Linked DNA regions of Homo sapiens: region 2 is linked to region 1. The links are contacts of gene promoters, found by promoter capture Hi-C in human tissues and cell types (Jung and others, 2019). All regions are on one chromosome and are shown on one strand. Each heading gives the region's core, a stretch centred on a gene start or on the middle of the fragment in contact. The rest is flanking DNA. Distances are from core to core; before and after follow the strand shown. Region 1 holds the start of CDIP1 (cell death inducing p53 target 1). Region 2 overlaps C16orf96 (chromosome 16 open reading frame 96).

The links. The method cuts DNA at HindIII sites, captures the fragments that hold promoters and counts their contacts. A contact is called where the count stands out against the background at its distance.
Region 2: a fragment that was not itself captured here is called in contact with the fragment with the promoter of CDIP1 in region 1 in 1 of the 25 tissues and cell types used here (mesenchymal stem cells).

What each region holds. Positions count from the first base shown.
Region 1 is chr16:4,536,913-4,540,099 of GRCh38, forward strand. It overlaps CDIP1 (cell death inducing p53 target 1), which reads right to left and starts at 1,861. Exons shown (of 6, transcript NM_013399.3): 1 at 1,790-1,861. It also overlaps a transcript of C16orf96 not described here. RefSeq lists silencers at 1,258-1,477, 1,488-1,777. The HindIII fragment of the contact is 9,452 bases long and covers 1-3,187 here.
Region 2 is chr16:4,571,236-4,574,460 of GRCh38, forward strand. C16orf96 (chromosome 16 open reading frame 96) reads left to right here. Exons shown (of 16, transcript NM_001145011.2): 2 at 326-430. Among named protein-coding and RNA genes, the nearest start is that of C16orf96, 17 kb to the left of the region's middle. The HindIII fragment of the contact is 3,047 bases long and covers 385-3,225 here.

The sequences.
Region 1 (3,187 bases), core at 611-3,110:
CAGAGCAAGACCCTGGCTCTAAATAAATAAATGAACCTTTGTAAGAGAACCTGTAAAGCTCTTCCCTGGTTCTCCCATCCTGTGGAAAACCTCCGAACTCCTTCAAATTCTCAAGGGTGAGAGACGGATTTCTAAATACCCAGGGCTTCCATTAAGGTAAAAACCATTAAGAAGATAAAAAAGTCAAACCCAATAAACAACAATTCTAAGACTCTAATTAATGACATGCATGCTTATTTGGGAGGGAAAGGCACTGATATCTGCAACTTACTTTGACACAAAAAACAAGAGGGACTGCTGGTTGGACAAATATGTGATGAAATACAATAAAGTGTTAACTCTACATTCTAGGTGGTGGTCTGTGGGTGTTCACTGTAAAATTCCTTCAACTTTTGTATGTTTCACGTTTTTCGTAACTGAATGTGTAGAGGGGGAGTCTTCTGAGACTGGCAAGTGACTGGGCATAACCTTTCCGATTAAGGGCAGAGGGCAAGGCAGAGCTGGCACGCCTCCCTCCACCCAGTTCTACCTAGATCGGCCCCAAGGGAAGCAGCAAAGAACCCAGGAGAGCAGTAACTTGCCCGGGCACCGCCCCGCCCAGCATCAGGCCCCAGAATACAGAAGAAACTGGCAGAAACACTATGGAACGTCCCTGCCCCCGGGCCCGCCAACCCCCTCACTGGGACAGGTTCTCAGCCCCAGCTGCGCCCGGGAATGATCTGGGGAGCCTACTAAATGCAGATTCCTGGGCAGCGCGACGGAACTACAGCATCCCAACACCTGGGGTGGGCCCCAGGAATCTGCCCGTTTCCCAAGAGCCCCAGGTGGTTCTGACGCAGAGGATCTTGAGCCCACCTTTGGAGGAACTCACAGCCACTCGCCCCACCTCATCTAACACCTGTTGAGAAGCCCCCCAAGGAACTCGCTAAGCCAAGGTCCTCGAAGGCGCGACTCCTAGCCCCAAGCTAGGCCAGGCCGTCGCCATCTCCGCCGGGGATGCGCGGCCGAGCGCCACATCCCGACTCCACACGTCGGCGAGCCGGGCGCGGGTGCAGGACACTGCTGGGCTCCGGGACGGCCAAGGTCACCCGCGGGGCTCGGCAGGGGCTGGCTCGGCCACGGGGCTCCTCCTCGACCCCCTTTCCTTGAGAAAACAACTCCCACCCCTCCCCTCCCCGTCTCGCCCTGCAAGACGGAGATGGCAATTTCCACAACCTTCCCTGACGGAAAAACGTGCGGGCGAGCAGGCTGCCATTCCGGGCGCACAACCCCGCGGCACACAGCGGGGCGCCCGCCCGGGCCCCGCCACCGCAGCGGCTTCGACATCCCCAGGGCCGCGCTAGGTCTCGGCAGCGCCCTGAGGGGAGGACGGGCCCCGCCATGCCGCGCCCCAACCGCCGGCCCCGCTTTACCTCCAGAAGCCCGGTGCCCGAGGCCGGCCGAAAGCGGAGAGGGGCCCGGGTCCGGACAGGCGCCGGCAGAACAAGACCCTCAGCCCCGCGCGGCTTTGCGCGCACAACGAAACCCCCCAACCCACCGCCCACCCCACCGCCCAGAGGCTTCTAGGACTTGTAGTCCGCCCGGTCACCCCCCCCACCACAACCCGCTCTGAGAGGCTGGGGACTACGGTGCCCGGCATGCACCGCCCAGGCGCCGCGGGCGGGGGCGGGGAGGGGGCGCCACGGTCCGAGGTCACGCCCCGACCTGAGGAGAGCTGGCGCCCAGACCCTTCCCCCGGGGAGGAGGGCTCCCGCGCGAAGCCGTCTCCGAATGCGTCCAGTCGACTCACCGTCCCCGCAGCCCTGGGGCAGCGGCCGCAACAGCAGGACCGAACGCCTCGGCAGCTGGCAGTCGCACTTCTGTCACAAGGAGGCGGGTAGACTTTGGACCAGGGCCGAGGCCCGGGACGTCACGGTGGGGGGTGGGGTCTCGGGAGGCACGTGATGCGCCGTGATGACGTCAGTGGGAGCGGAGGCGATTTGGCCTAGAGCTGGGGCTGAGCACGTGGGATGGTCGGGGCCTGTTTGCCCAATGTACACGAGGCTGGAGAATAGGGAAAGAACCGTCCCTGTGAGCGCCTCCTCTTCACTCATGCCAGCAACAGGGCAGGGCATCTTCCTCCAGGGCTGCATTTTTTCTTTTATGCGACTAATATTTATTGAGTTTGGGAGGTGCATTACATAAAACCTTGAACCACACGGTCACTGTCCCTGCGCTTGAAACTGCCTTTGCAAAAATTACAACAGAAAATTATGACAGTGAAAGAGAGCTGACCTAACCCACTCCATCTTGCTTCTAACCTCCAGGTTGTCCTTGTTCATTCCTAGGCATAGGCAGAACTAACTTTGGGAGCAACTTAGTTTATAGTTTAATATTGAAACAAAGATAGTTAACAGCCCTTTCCCAAAACAAACCCCCTTGTTGCCTGAGAACCAGGCTTCCTTTGTAAGAGTAACACGTTAGCTACAAGATTAGACATTATAGTTTAGGGCCCAGCTCAGTGGCTAACGCCTGTAATCCCAGCACTTTGGAAGGCTGACGCAGGTGGATCACTTGAGGTCAGGAGTTTGAGACCAGCCTGGCCAACATGGTGAAACCATGTCTCTATTTAAAAATACAAAAATTAGCCGGGTATGGTGGCACGCACCTGTAATCCCAACTACTAGGGAGGCTGAAGCCCAAAAATTGCTTGAACCCGAGAGATGGAGGTTGCAGTGAGCTGAGATTATGCCTCTGCACTCCAGCCTGAGCAAGAGACTGAGACTCCATCTCAAAAAAAGAAAGAAAGAAAGAAATTACGGTTTAGGAGTCATGCACCCAGAGGCCACAAGATTCTAAACCTCCCCAGTTGATCCTAGGTATAATATCACTATTGTAAAACCTAAGATTGGTACTCTTAGGTGTTTTTCTGACCCTGCAGTCTGATGCACCAGCCAAGGCCACCTAGAGCTGTAATCTGACTCAACCAGTTCTTGCATCCTTCAACACCCTGTGATTTCATCTCCCACCCCACCAATCAGCACTCCCTACTCCTTGGCAGCTTATCTACCAAATTACCCTTTAAAAACTCTAGGCTCTGAATTTCCAGGGAGACTGATTTGAGTAATGAAACTTTGGTCTCCCATTCAGCCAGCTCTGTGTGGATTAAACTCTTTCTCTATTGCAGTTCCCCTGTCTTGATACATTG
Region 2 (3,225 bases), core at 658-3,157, 34 kb after region 1:
TGGCTCCTACCCAGGGATGGGCTGTGCTTCCTCCCTGGCTGACATCTATCATAGAAGAAAGGGCGTGAGATGCTTCATGACGAGTAACTCCTGGTTTCTGGATATATTCAAATACAGAGTTGCCTCCTTCTCATCCAGGCCACTTGGAGATGAGAGCACTGTTGACTTTAGTAGCATCTCCTGGTCCCCTTGTAGGTTCCAGTCTAGGCCTTGGGAGAGCCAAGAGGACCTCTTGAACAACGGCTATCATCAGAAAGCTTCTGCACTTCACTTACCTTCTCCCCCAGCCATACCCGGCTTCACATTTTCTCCTCCTCTTTTGCAGTCAATGCAGACCCTGCAGGACTTGCTCACTGATCTTCATGCACTCCAGGTCACCATCACAGCCCTCAGAAAAGAAGTGGACATGCTGAAGAACATGCTTGACAAGGTAGGCCCTCCCCCAGCATCCTCCATGCCAGCTGCGTTGCTCAGGCCTCTGGGGGTTGGAGCAATGAGGAAAATCTAGGAAGCTTACTGTTAGGCCAAGAGTGCAGCTGTGAGGGTGTGGTCATGTGGACCCTCCAATTGGCCAGTGCCACCGACTTCTCTGTGACCCCTCCATGCTTTCTTTTCTTTTCTTTTTTTTTTTTAAGACAGAGTCTCACTCTGTTGCCCAGGATGGAGTGCAATGGCATGATCTTGGCTCACGGCAACCTCTGCCTCCCGGGTTCAAGTGATTCTCCTGCCTGAGCTTCCCGAGTAGCTGGGATTACAGGCACGCACCACCACATCTGGGTAATTTTTGTATTTTTAGTAGAGACAGGGGTTCATCTTGTTGGCCAGGCTGGTCTCGAACTTCTGACCTCGTGATCCACCCACCTCAGCCTCCCAAAGTGCTGGGATTACAGGTGTAAGCCACCATACCTGGCCGACCCCTCCATGCTTTCTACCCCAGTGTGTTAAAACGTTAGTTGTAAGTGACAGAAATCACGTTCATCCTGGATTAGGCAAAATAAGGGATTTATTGTCTCATTTACTAAAAGGTCCAGGGACGGCCAGATCTAGGTACTCATGCAATACTTATATTTCTTTTTTTTTTTGAGATGGAGTCTCGCTCTGTTGCCCAGGCTGGAGTGTAGTGGCTCGATCTTGACTCACTGCAACCTCCACCTCCCGGGTTCACGCCATTCTCCTGTCTCAGCCTCCCGAGTAGCTGGGACTACAGGCGCCCGCCCCCATGCCCGGCTAATTTTTTTTGTATTTTTAGTAGAGATGGGGTTTCACCATGTTAGCCAGGATGGTCTCAATCTCCTGACCTCTTGATCCGCCCGCCTCAGCCTCCCAAAGTGCCAGGATTACAGGCGTGAGCCACCACATCCGGCAATACTGACGTTTCTCAGTGAAACTTTCCTCCCAGTTGGCTTCATTCTCAGGCAGGTGCTCCTCAAGTCTTGGCAACAGCAGACTTATATTCCACCAACCTAGCAAAAAGAAAACCTCTTCCCCTTCTGGAAAGCTCTGTCCACATGGAAAGTGGAATAATCATAATAGTGCAGGCATACATACAAGCTCCTTCTGTACTTCTGTAGCCAAAAACCATCAGCCAAGTATTTTCTAACACCCTACCATGCATGGAAGGACATGGAGTCCCCGAGACATGAGGCAGCTGTCCCCGTCACAACTGATGAGTCACAGCTGGGGTCTGAAGCCAGCTCTCCACACCCCCAGGTTTAACAACTTCCCCCAAATAGTGTAATTTTCTGTATCATCCCGGCTTCACAGATCAGGGCCTGTATTTGATCATCATGGCAACTGTGGGAGCTTTAGGCATGGGCTGGATGGCTCCCATCTAAGCAGAAAGAACGCTGTTAAAAGCTGCATCATGAGCTACTCAAAAGGGCCCCTTAGACAAAGCTGTTGGAGAAACCATGCCTTCTCGGCGGGGCCTGGTGTCTCACGCCTGTAATCCCAGCACTTTGGGAAGCCAAAGCAGGCGGATCACCTGAGGTCAGGAGTTCGAGACCAGCCTGGCCAACATGGTAAAACCCCCGTCTCCACTAAAAATACAAAAATTAGCTGGGTGTGGTTGCAGGCACCCGTAACCCCAGCTACTCAGGAGGCTGAGGCACGAGAATCACTTGAACCCAGGAGGTGGAGATTGTAGTGAGCCAAGATTGCGCCACTGCACTCCAGCCTGGGTGACAGAGCAAGACTCCGTCTCAAAAAAAAAAAAAAAAAAAAGGTGGGGTCGGTGGGGCGGCATGGTGGTTCACGCCTGTAATCTCAGCATTTTGGGAGGCTGAGGTGGGCAGATCACAAGGTCAGGAGATCGAGACCATCCTCGCTAACACGGTGAAACCCCATCTCTACTAAAAATACAAAAAATTAGCTGGATGTGGTGGCAGGTACCTGTAGTCCCAGTTACTCAGGAGGCTGAGGCAGGAGAATGGTGTGAACCTGGGAAGTGGAGCTTGCAGTGAGCCGAGATCACACCACTGCACTCCAGCCTGGGCAACAGAGTGAGACTCTGTCTCAAAAAAAAAAAAAAAAGAAAAAAGAAAAGAAAAACAATGCCTTATTGGCCTGTCTCTTGGAGGTGTTTTTGTTGTTGTTGTTTTGTTTTGTATTCTTTTTGAGACGGAGTCTCTCTCTGTCACCCAGGCTGGAGTGCAGTGGCACGATCTCAGCTCACTGCAACCTCTGCCTCCCGGGTTCAAGTGATTTTCCTGCCTCAGCCTCCTGAGTAGCTGGGATTACAGGTGCAAGCCACCACGCCTAGCTAATTTTTGTGTTTTTAGTGGAGGTGGGGGCTTCACCACATTGGTCAGGCTGGTCCCGAACTCCTGAACTCATGATCCACCCGCCTCAGCATCCCAAAGTGCTGGGATTACAGGCATGAGCCACTGTGCCCGGCCCTCTTGGAGATTCTTAATGTGCTTTTGCTCATTCAAGGCTCTGGGAAGTCCTGCCGTACAGAAACCTGTTGAAATGTTTTTTATTTATTTATTTATTTACTTATTTTTGAGACAAAGTCTCACTCTGTTGCCCAGGCTGGAGTGCAGTGGCGCCATCTCAGCTCACTGCAACCTCTGCCTCCTGGATTCAAGTGATTCTCCTGCCTCAGCTTCCTGATAGCTGGGATTACAGGCGCATGCCATCAGGCCCAGCTAATTTTTGTATTTTTAGTAGAGACGGTGTTTCACCATGTTGGCCAGGCTGCTGTCGAACTCCTGACCTCAAGTT